2 separate regions of the Homo sapiens genome follow, and region 2 is linked to region 1. The links are contacts of gene promoters, found by promoter capture Hi-C in blood cells and fetal thymus (Javierre and others, 2016). All regions are on one chromosome and are shown on one strand. The core of a region is centred on a gene start or on the middle of the fragment in contact, and the rest is flanking DNA. Distances in the headings are between cores, read along the strand shown. Region 1 holds the start of APP (amyloid beta precursor protein). Region 2 has its middle 150 kb from the start of HEMK2.

The links. Contacts are between HindIII fragments. The CHiCAGO score rates a contact against its expected background, and 5 or more counts as called.
Region 2: a contact is called between a fragment that was not itself captured here and the fragment with the promoter of APP in region 1, in 1 of 17 cell types (non-activated CD4 T cells). The highest score is 6.7, in non-activated CD4 T cells.

Annotation. Positions count from the first base shown.
Region 1 is chr21:26,169,042-26,175,054 of GRCh38, reverse strand. APP (amyloid beta precursor protein) reads left to right here and starts at 4,285. Exons shown (of 18, transcript NM_000484.4): 1 at 4,285-4,491. The coding sequence starts at 4,435. It overlaps APP-DT (APP divergent transcript), which reads right to left and starts at 4,188. Exons shown (of 4, transcript NR_186396.1): 1 at 4,003-4,188. RefSeq lists silencers at 3,933-4,762, 5,263-5,532 and enhancers at 4,550-5,074, 5,573-5,782. The HindIII fragment of the contact is 2,642 bases long and covers 3,800-6,013 here.
Region 2 is chr21:28,736,921-28,742,837 of GRCh38, reverse strand. It overlaps a transcript of HEMK2 not described here. Among named protein-coding and RNA genes, the nearest start is that of HEMK2, 150 kb to the left of the region's middle. RefSeq lists a silencer at 1-231. The HindIII fragment of the contact is 2,967 bases long and covers 2,211-5,177 here.

The DNA.
Region 1 (6,013 bases), core at 3,036-5,535:
GCCAAGGAGACCTCTGAGGATTCCAATCCTATCTGCATCTTGATCTTAGACTTTTCTGGAACTGTGAGAAAATAAATTTCTTGGTTTAAGCCACCCAGTCTGTGATATTTTGTTATGGCAGCTCTAGTAAACTAATACAGATTTTAAATGTCATTAAATGTCAATGTTTAAGCTTTGACAAAATTTTCTAAAGGAAAGTATAAAAGGTCATTTTCTTTCTTTTCAGAGCCTGATGATTGCGGGAGGGGTAAGCCAGCTGCATGGGGATCATGATGCAATGCTGATGCAGGACAGACAGAAAGTAGATCTCTTCCATTTCTATTTTTTTTTTTTCTGTTGAGTTGAATGATCTTCAGACTGAAAATGAAAGAAAGGTCACTGGAAATAAAGGCCAAAGATGAGTGACAGGATTATAGAATAAGTCTTAGCTGTTCTAAAGAAGGACATATTATGTACCCCCACCCCCAAATTCATATGTTGAAGTCCTAACCCGACAGTGTCTCAAAATGTGACCATATTTGGAGATAGGGTCAAAGATGTAATTAAGGTTAAATGAGGTCATTAGCATGGATCCTAACCCAATATCTGCTGTCCTTATAACAAGAGGAGATTAGGGCACAGTAAGACACAGAGGGAAGACCATGTGAGAATACAGGGAGAAGGTGGCCATCTGCAAGCCAAGGAGAGAGGCCTCAGAAGTAACCAACTCAGCCAACACCTCGATTTCAGACTTCCAGCCTCCTGAAATGTGAGGAAATACATTTCTGGTGTTTGATCCATCCAGTCTATGGTAAGTTATGGCACCCCTGCAGGGTTCATCTGGCTCAGACTTAACGATTGCTTTTGGTGATATTTATAGGGCACAGATAACAGCCTAAACACAAGACGACAGAAACGCGGCCCAGCAGACTATGCATAAAATAGAAATGGGGTATCTGGACCAATTGGAGTCTGCAGTGGGATGCGGTTACTAAAACAGTCAAATGCAACATGAGGCTCCAGGCAGAGTAGTGGGCAACATCTCCCATGTTGCAGCAGTCAGAGCACACTTCGAGTACTGTAAAAAGACACAGACAAGCCAGAACACATTTAGAGAATGGCCAAGGTGTGGAAGGAACCAGAAACCATGCCATTATGCAACTGTTGAAGGAAGTGCCTGTTTTACCTTGTGAAGAGAAGACTCTAGAGGAAGAAGTAGCATGAAAACCGCTGGCAAATTTGTAAAGATCTGAAGTGTGGAAAAGAATTATTCTGCTTGGTCACTGGGGATACAAGGATATCTGAGTGGGAGTTTAAAGGCGGGGGATGTGAGCTTTAAATGGGATAAGAACATTCTAGTAACCAGAAATGCCCAAAGATAGAATGCACAGTCTGGAGAGCCAGTGAATATCTCACAAATGGAGACACTTGAAACTAGGATGGGGATGCTGTTGTAGGAATTCCAGCAGACAAGTGGTTGTTGGTTCCTTCCCCAACTTTGTAGGGTTATAACTAGGGATGTTCCTGCGTTTTCTGCTTGGAGGATCTGCAAGACACCTCAGGGCAGGAAATGGCATTAAATGCAGAACAGAGCTAGTGGCTGAAAAGCAAAAAGCCATCAGGATCTCTGAGTAGTGAAGGAACCAGAGAACATGCAGGCAATGTCCATCATTCTGACGCAATCAGCAGCATAATCATCTTCCCCCAGGAACATCTTGACCAGGGAATGTGTCAGTGTGGTGAATTTCAACAGTGGAAAGAGAAACTGCTAAATCTAAGAACTTTAATTTTTATAGATTATGATCTCATCTCTACAATTTTGAATTTCATGCTCAATAAAAGTTCCTTACTCTCTTTTTTTTTTTTTGAGACGGAGTCTCGCTCTGTCGCCCAGGCTGGAGTGCAGTGGCGCGATCTCGGCTCACTTCAAGCTCAGCCTCCCGGGTTCACGCCATTCTCCTGCCTCAGCCTCCCCAGTAGCTGGGACTACAGGCGCCCGCCACGACGCCCGGCTAATTTTTTGTATTTTTAGTAGAGACGGGGTTTCACCGTGTTAGCCAGGATGGTGTTGATCTCCTGACCTCGTGATCCGCCCGCCTCAGCCTCCCAAAGAAAAGTCCCTCACTCTTAAAGTTGCCTCCTCCTTCCCAGGGCTGGCTTCATGGGCATGCAACCCTGGAGAGTCTCACAGGCCCTGCGGTGGGAGGAGCCCCATGCTTGGTTTAACGCTCTGCCATTGCCATCTTAAAATTCTTAATTTAATTTTTTTTCTTTTTTTTGAGGTGGAGTCTCGCTCTGTCGCCCAGGCTGGAGTGCAATGGCACAATCTTGGCTCACTGCAACCTCCGCCTCCCAGGTTCAAGCGATTCTCCTGCCTCAGCCTCTGGAGTAGCTGGGATTACAGGCAGGAGTAACCACGCTCGGCTAATTTTTGCATTTTTAGTAGAGATGGGGGTTTCACCATGTTGGCCAGGCTGGTCTAGAACTCCTGACCTCAGGTGATCTGCCCACCTGGGCCTCCTAAAGTGCTGGGATTACAGGCATGAGCCACCAGGCCCGGCCTTAAAATTCTTAATAATGTAACAAAGGGTCTCACGTTTGCATTTTGCAGTGGACTCTGCAAGATTTGTAGCTTTGGACCACGTTTCTCTTTGCATTCAGATACCTTCTTTTTTGCCTTATTTGCTCATGCAGACCCGGAACAAATACGGAATTGCGGTGGGTAAATGTGGTGCAGAAAGTGAACAACTGGGTTTGTCCTGTCACTTTAGGCTTTTCCCTGCTGTCCCAGCTTCATGTCACTTACTTGCTATTAGATTTGGGAGTTCATTAGCTTCATTTTCCTGATGTATAAATAGGAATAATAGTAACAGCCTCTTTGGCTTTTGTAGGAAGTAAATGACATGAAGCGTATAAACAAATACTGCATGACAATAAATATTTGTCCTTATTTGTTGAGGACATCCAAAGGACATTCAGGGGCAAAAGTAATCCAAGAGTCAAGACTGAATGCCTAGTGCGGGAAAAGACACACAAGACAACATTTAGGGGAGCTGGTACAGAAATGACTTCCCAGGAAGGAAGTCTGTACCCCGCTGGCTGAGCCATCCTTCCCGGGCCTAGGCACCCTTGTCAGCGCAATGAGCAAGGGAGAGAAGGCAGGCTGCAGTGCAGCCCTCAGAAGGGCCAGAGCACTCCCTGGCTTCAGTCCTTCGCTCCAAGCCCTGTGTGGAGTGGGCTGTGGCTTGGTAACTAAATGCTACTTCAGGTCAAGAGCAGGGGATATATCTGGGCAGTTCTAGAGCATTCTAAACTATCTGGACACTAACTGGACAGTGGACGGTTTGTGTTTAATCCAGGAGAAAGTGGCATGGCAGAAGGTTCATTTCTATAATTCAGGACAGACACAATGAAGAACAAGGGCAGCGTTTGAGGTCAGAAGTCCTCATTTACGGGGGTCGAATACGAATGATCTCTCCTAATTTTTCCTTCTTCCCCAACTCAGATGGATGTTACATCCCTGCTTAACAACAAAAAAAGACCCCCCGCCCCGCAAAATCCACACTGACCACCCCCTTTAACAAAACAAAACCAAAAACAAACAAAAATATAAGAAAGAAACAAAACCCAAGCCCAGAACCCTGCTTTCAAGAAGAAGTAAATGGGTTGGCCGCTTCTTTGCCAGGTCCTGCGCCTTGCTCCTTTGGTTCGTTCTAAAGATAGAAATTCCAGGTTGCTCGTGCCTGCTTTTGACGTTGGGGGTTAAAAAATGAGGTTTTGCTGTCTCAACAAGCAAAGAAAATCCTATTTCCTTTAAGCTTCACTCGTTCTCATTCTCTTCCAGAAACGCCTGCCCCACCTCTCCAAACCGAGAGAAAAAACGAAATGCGGATAAAAACGCACCCTAGCAGCAGTCCTTTATACGACACCCCCGGGAGGCCTGCGGGGTCGGATGATTCAAGCTCACGGGGACGAGCAGGAGCGCTCTCGACTTTTCTAGAGCCTCAGCGTCCTAGGACTCACCTTTCCCTGATCCTGCACCGTCCCTCTCCTGGCCCCAGACTCTCCCTCCCACTGTTCACGAAGCCCAGGTGGGCCGTCGGCCGGGGAGCGGAGGGGGCGCGTGGGGTGCAGGCGGCGCCAAGGGCGCGTGCACCTGTGGGCGCGGGGCGCGAGGGCCCCTCCCGGCGCGAGCGGGCGCAGTTCCCCGGCGGCGCCGCTAGGGGTCTCTCTCGGGTGCCGAGCGGGGTGGGCCGGATCAGCTGACTCGCCTGGCTCTGAGCCCCGCCGCCGCGCTCGGGCTCCGTCAGTTTCCTCGGCAGCGGTAGGCGAGAGCACGCGGAGGAGCGTGCGCGGGGGCCCCGGGAGACGGCGGCGGTGGCGGCGCGGGCAGAGCAAGGACGCGGCGGATCCCACTCGCACAGCAGCGCACTCGGTGCCCCGCGCAGGGTCGCGATGCTGCCCGGTTTGGCACTGCTCCTGCTGGCCGCCTGGACGGCTCGGGCGCTGGAGGTGGGTGCCGCGCCTCGGAAGGCGGGGGGAGGCTGCACGGTGGGGACGCGATACCCCCCAAGACCTTAACCCAAGTCTTTAATGCAGAGAAGCCGGGGGTCCGTCAATGGGACCCCTCTCCTCTCCGCCCCCGCTTGCGGACGTCCAGCGCATCCCCGCTTTCGGCCCAGCCCTGCCCCAGGGAGTCGCGCTCCGGCCCGCTGAGAGGGAGCGGGCGAGGCGCTGGTCTCCCTGGTTCCGCGCCAGCCCGGGGCGAGAAGGGTAGGGGGCGACCCTGAGCCCAGACCCCGACTTAGTCCCTGCCTTGGAAGCGGGGGTCGGGGGAGGCGAGAGACATTCAGACAGGGGGGAAGGGGGAAGGAGCACGTGGGGAAAACCGAAAACGCAGCGTCCCTAAAGCCAGTCCTTCGCTCTTGAATCGTTGCCCTTTCCTTTCTCTTGGGCCCTGGGGAGGAGGAGGAGGAGTCGGGACAGCCCAGGAAGCTAGGAGCCCCTCGCTTTTCCCTGCGTTCTCCGCCTCGTTTCACCTTCCTCTCTCACCCCCATCCCCCTTCCTTGCTCCAACCTCTTTTCGCGGCTGCTGGCGGCGGCAGCCTGGGTGCGACCCTAGCCCGAGCCGGCGTCGGGGTCGCGCACCGCCTTCCACAGGCAAACTTTGTGCATGTCCGCGTCTCCCTTTTGTGTAACTTGCGAGAAATGGGAGGGGTCGGAGACCCATAGCCACCCCGCGCCTTCCCCAAGTCTGGACGTCCCGGGAGTTCGCTCGCACCCTAAGCTCTGTCTGAGAGGCAGAAGGTCCGCGGGAACAAAAGCCGCGACACCCCGCCCTCGCCGTGGGCCGAGCCGCGTTAGTCTCAGTGCGCCACCGAGGCTCCCGCCCGGCTCCCTTCCCGGGGCTGCGCGTCCGCCTGGGAGGGGGCAGAGACGCTGCCGGGGCTTCTGGCGGAGCCTCGGGGCCCCTCTGCTTCCCACCCTCGGATCACCTCCGAGGCTTAATTCTGTGCTGGGCTGTAAAGTCCTTGGCGGGGAGGAAATAAGGCGGAGAGTGGGATGTGCGTCTGGAAAGGGCAGTGGCGGATGGTGGGGAGGCACGGGCTCTGTCCTGTGCATCCAAGGAGGCGTTTGTCTGATTAAGGCGCGGCCTCTTCCCTGGCAGCTCTGGGGACTCTGGTTTAGTTCCCCTGGGGGCACAGGATGCTGGGGAGGGTCCGAAGGGTCTTTTTTTTAGGGTGCAGATAAAAGGATCGAATTGAGTGAAGATTAAGACGGAGAAGATGGCGCCTCTGCAGTGCAGCAAAGAAAAGCTGTGTGGAGGCTGCAGCCTAGTGAAATCCACCCACCACTAGGTGTATAACAAGTCTTCCCCATTCATCCAACTCTCGAACATTCAGCTAACGCCTGTGCACAATGACTGTTTTTCTTTACATCTGAAGATGCTTAGAAGTTGTTTGCATGACAGTTGGGCCAGAGGAGGCTGTATTTCACTTCGGACTTCGGTTGGGTTCCTGTTTGGCATCTTAAC
Region 2 (5,917 bases), core at 2,445-4,944, 2.6 Mb before region 1:
TCCCTCAATAAATAGATATGTGTCTATAGGGCTTCTTCAAATTCTGGTGTTTGGGTGAAAATATTGAAATACTGTAGATGGCACCATGACATTGCACATGACTGTTTTAGAACAAAACCACTGTGTCGTTATCTCCCTCCCCCATTTTTTTTCCTTTTTTTTTTCTTAGTGGGCAAGTTATTGGAATCTTTAAAAAAATGATCATTTATGATTAAAACTTGGAAAAGGAATTATGCCCATTTTTTTCATGTTTACTCTCATGGCCTGTACTACAAAGCACTAGTCAGTAACCTCCCCTTGAAAAGTCTTTGGATAAGTGCATCATTATTCTAGCTACCAGCACTTGGTGAATCCCCATGTTAAACTCAACGTGTTTTGAAATTAAACCTCAGAGATGTTCCCAACCTTCTTTTATGTCCCTAGAGATAAGTTTACCAAATGTTAACAAAGAAATAATTGTTCTCAGAACTTATGGCAGCAAAGTGATGAGATGTAGGGTTGCTTTAAGACCGAGGCACAAATGGTGCTCTGTGGCAAACGTAAAGAAACTGTTCAATAATTACTGTTTTCAGCAAATGTAAAACTCTAAACCAGGGGCCAGCAAACTTCTTCTGTACAGATCCATCCAGATAGTAAATATTGTCAGCTTTATGGGCTACACGGTCTCTGTCCAAGCTACTCAAAGCTGCCATTTTACCCTGAAAGCAGCCATAGACAATACATATACAAACAGGCATGGCTGTGTTCCAACAATACTTTATTTACAAAAACAGGTGGCAGATTTGGTCCTGAGCGATAGTTTGCCGTCACCTCCTCAAACCCAGGCTTGCTTTCCCTGTAAAGAAGGCTCTCTCTTGTGGTGATTCCTCAAAGACCTAAAGACAGAAATACCATTTGACCCAGCAATCCCATTACTAGGTATATACCCAAAGGAAGAAATATATATCATTCTATTATACAGACACAGGCACACATGTGTTCACTGCAGCACTATTTACAATAGCAAAGACATGGAGTCAACCTAAATGCCCATCAATGATAGACTGGATATAGAAAATGTGGTACATATACACCATGGAATACTATGCTGCCGTAAAAAGGAATGAGATCATGTCCTTTGCAGGGACATGGACGAAGCTAGAGGCCTTAGTATCCTTAGCAAACTAACACAGGAACAGAAAACCAAATACCACATGTTCTCACTTATAAGTGGGAGCTAAATGATGAGAACGCAGAGACACATAGAGGGGAACAACACCCGCTGGGGCCTAGTGGAGGGTTGTGGGTGGCAGGAGGGAGAGGATCAGGAAAAATAACCAATGGGTACTAGGCTTAATAACCTGGGTGATGAAATAATCTGTACAACAAACCCCCATGACACAAGTTTACCTATGTAACAAACCTGCACATATATCCCTGAACTTAAAATCTTAAAATAAAAGTTAAAAAAAGAAACCTCTTTCTGTAGTAGGTTTGAATGCCTAATACACACATTTTCTCTCTCCTGCCTTTTAAAACTTCATGCTTATGCTTTCCCCATATGTTTCAAGCATGATCTTGTGTCATCTTTTTTGGAGGTAAAATGTTGGGTTGAGTGGGTTAGGAAACTGACTTGTGAGTGTGACATTGGAGATGGGTCTAATCATGATGTTGGCCTGGACATATCTCATTTCTTCCCATGGGACCCATCTGATTTGATTTGACTTTAGGAATAAGAGTTCAGATTTGGGATTGTGCTTGGTTTGGAGCTGGCTTGGTGAGCATGAAAATGCTCTTCAGTTATCTTGGAGCTAACACATGTGTATATTAACCAAACAGAAACCAACTTAGGAAGTAAATTATAGTAGTAATTGTATTAGAGGTAAAGCATATATACAGTTATGAACAGTGCCCTGTGTCCAAAAAAATGCATTACATAATTTTCAAAAATGTAATGTATTTATTAACATACTTATCCATAGTCAGGTTCCACAGGAGCTAATTCTGAATATGGTTCACTCAAGGCCACTCTGCCCAGGAAGTTGGGCAGAAGGGATCAATTCCCTTAAGAGGCATTGATCTGTTAGGTTCTTTCTTGCCTATCTAGACTTGAGCAGACTCCAGAAGAATAAAGCCAATAATTTCTAGGAATTCAATCTTGTAAACTTCTGGGTCAGGTAAAGATAGCAGGTTGCTTTTGATAGTTTTTGGCCTCATTTGAATTCTAAGCTTATGAAAACACTGTAGTTGTGAAATACTTTAGCATGAAGCCGAGGCTGGTGAAGGAAGGGTACCTTTTCTCTCCCACAAAAATCCTCTCCAACTAGATTTGATATATTTTGCATGGATTAATTCATAAACAATCACTATTGCCCATATGGAAGCTATGATAGCCAACGGACTGTAAAGTAGGCTGAAATCTGCAGTTGGCCCTCAGGTTTTGACCCACTGTCATTTGAATTCCTGCTTTATGTCAGCTCTCATAGGGAATAAGACATTCCAAAGGGTTACCCACACAATAAAGGACTTTGTCTATGTTCATGTGTTTTGGCCAGTTTGAAAATCTTATTGCGTGGTCTGGGCTACACAAATAGACAAAAGTAAATAGAGAAACCTGCTTCATGGAATAGCTTTGGAAACTGTGGTTGCTAAGATATAGATAGGCTTTAAGTAGAGAGAATTTCCATTATAAATATACTAAAAGGATCAGAAAAGTGAATTTACATGAAAAACATACACTGGGTGTTTGGAAAGTGCTTTTTCTATAGACGGTGTGTAAAACGCATATCAAGGGAACTCTTTGGGGGAAGACAAGAATTTACACAAGGTGTTGGGATGAAAAATATTGCTAACTTGTTTTAATTATTGGCTGAAACTTGATGGAAAGAGGAAAAAATCCTCCAGATGATACAAAGTAGACCTTTCTTCTCATGCTCCATAGAGGTCTTTCGGGAAAAATTTCCCATTTCTACTTATGTTTGGAAAACCTTGGGTGTGTATTTTCACTGTGTATTTAACCTTCTTTCCTGGCTTCTAGAACTGTGCTGTCCAATATGGTAGACACTGGCCATGTGTTGCTTTTGAGCACTTAAAATGTGGCTACTGTCGCTGAAAAACAGAATTGTTAATTTTATTGAATTTTAGTTAATTTAAATTTGAATAGGCACCTAGGGCTAATGGCTATAGGGACAGTACAGATAGAGAACATTTCCATCATCACAGAAAGTTCTGTTTAGACAGCACCCTGCTCTGGAGGGTGACCGGACAGTAATTTTTGCTCATAAGACTTGTTTTTAATATTGAAGATTTAGTTTTCTCCCAACTGATGAAGTTTAGGGAAAAATGCCACGAAGATGGCATTCAGATCTTATTAACATTTTCTCACTACTTATTTTTTCCCTCAGTTCTGAGTAATTCTGTCTATTTTTATCTATACCATATTATATTTAGTTCCTTCTAATGTAATTAAACAAAAATATCTTAATTTCAGAAAACACTTCTTTAATTAGTTGTGTTTGAAATGTCCTTACTAATCCTTACTATAATAACTGAATGGCCAATTTCATAGCCTCAGTGGGAAAAACGAAAAAAGAGAAAGACCTGTGTTCTTGATCTGTGCCAAACAGGAAAATACTGTGGTTCAGCAATAGAAAATGAAGAGGGAGGAAATGTTTCAGGTCATCAAATGGGGTCAGAAATACGCATGTCAATGTACTTTTGCTGCTCTCGCGAATTTCTCAAAAGGGTATCTGTGAATACCTAATTTAGGTTTTTTTGGTTTCATTTTAAGTACACATGAGCTTCTGGAAAGGGCGATATTTATATATTTTTTTCACTGTGGTTTACGATCCAGTGTAGGTATATTTCAGGATGTCACTCACAATTTCAATGTGGTCATAGAATTATTCAGAGAAAGCTAATTGAAAGCAAAATGCATTAAAATGACTAGGATTAAGCTGCCCACGGACACCAACTGTCTTGTTTTGTCCCCATTGTAAACACAAGTGCCCCAGAAGTGCATGTGCTGAAGTTGGCCTCTGTTGAATGAATGCATTTAAATGTGGAAGTTTTTGTATTATTATAGGATAAGAAATGTTGCAATTGCAAAAATGTTGGGGACTAGAGCCATCTCTGGGAGGTTTTCCTAGGACGTAAGCTCTGTTGTTTCGGAGTTCAGGGAGTGGGGCAGTGACCTGCATAAAGAGCCCCCAGGGAGAAGGCCCAGGGTCCTGGCTTCTCCGTGGGACTGTTTCCCGGGTCACAGAAAGGGAGACCCAAGTGTCAGAGATGGGCAGATTGAACTGTCCCTGCCGGTGTTTACAAGAGACACTTGACCTTGATGGAAAGCAGAGGGAGGACAGCAAGAGGGAGACGTTCTCTGTGTCCACATCAGCACCCTTTCCCCCTTCCTTGCCCTTTATCTTGTCTCATCCTTACCTTGTTGGAAAAACACATTGGCAACATCACAGCCCACTCAAAAGGTTGCCAACACCTTCTCCCAATAATAGCGATCAACATATGTAATAGACTTCAGCTGTCTTTTTGGGAGATCTGGCAACAAACTTAACTGAAAAAAGTCAGATTTTTACAAAGAAACACTGCTTTATTGCTTAAATGTGGAAATAATACAGAACACCAGCTAAGCTAATAGCTTTCTGAGAAAGAAAGTTCAAAGTGTCCATTGCTACTTCAATAACACATACATAAGTGGAAGGTGACCAAAAAGATGAACATGTAAAGAGGGGCCCTCATGTGTCGGCAAATTGTTGCTATTCTGAGCTCTCCACTTGCAGCAATTATCTAACTGTTGTTGGAAGAAGCTAAGAAACAATCCTCCAGCCCTCCCATAATGCCCTCTCCAAACAAATGAAAACACAGTGCAATTGGCTTTTCAGTGTTTGCTCCCAACCTGCCCCTTCCTGTGTTTCTCCCTGAACATGATTCTTTACTTCGTAGGTCATCCTCTCATCCTTGCATTCTTTGTGTATATTACTGGCTAGCTGCCAATCAGCAATGGACACCTCCCAGAGTTCTGGCAGACCTGGCTTGTGAAGTTAAGCAGGGCTTGGTGAATTTAGCTCACTTAACTGAGATATGAGAGCAGTGAAGTGATGTATGTAGAGAAAGGCACAGTTCTCCAGAGCTCTTGAGAATCCTTAAAATAAATATATGTTCCTTACAAATTTTCATCGTAAGCTTGGTGCACATTTCTAAGGCAGCTGGGGAATCATAGAGCAGCTCATCTTTTCTTCTTCTTTTTTTTTTTAACAGTCTATGGACTAATTAAGCTCTGAAAACCCATTAAAACACAAGTAGGCCATGATTTCAACACTTCTAAAGAAAAAAAGGCAGATTTTTGAATTCTCGTTTTCTCTGGCTCTGCCTCTAAAGCCTCAAAAACATTTTATAATAAGTGGATAAAACTCCACTGAGGGATTGGGCGTGGTGGCTCATGACTGTAATCCCAGAACTTTGGGAGGCTGAGGTGGGCAGATCACTTGAGGCCAGGAGTTCAAGACCACTCTGGCCAATATGGTGAAACCCCATCTCTACTAAAAATACAAAACTTACCTCGGTGGGGTGGTTCACACTTGTAGTCCCAGCTACTTGGGGGGCCGAGGCCCAAGAATCGCTTAAACTCTGGAAGCAGAGGCTTCAGTGAGCTGAGATTGTACCACTGCACTCCAGCTTGGGTGACAAAGTGAGACCCTGACTCAAAAACCAACCAATTAACCAACCAACCAACCAACCAACCAACAAACTTCACTGAGGACAGAAAATCTGCCTCCTCAACCCCAATCATTTTGTATTTACTGGGACCCTTGTCTCTTTTAACTTCTGAGTTTATGGGGAGCCTCTTTTAAATCTCCCCAGCTACTCAAATTTTATATATGGAAGGGAGGTGGGAACTATTCAGTCTTGGAAGAATAAAGTTTAA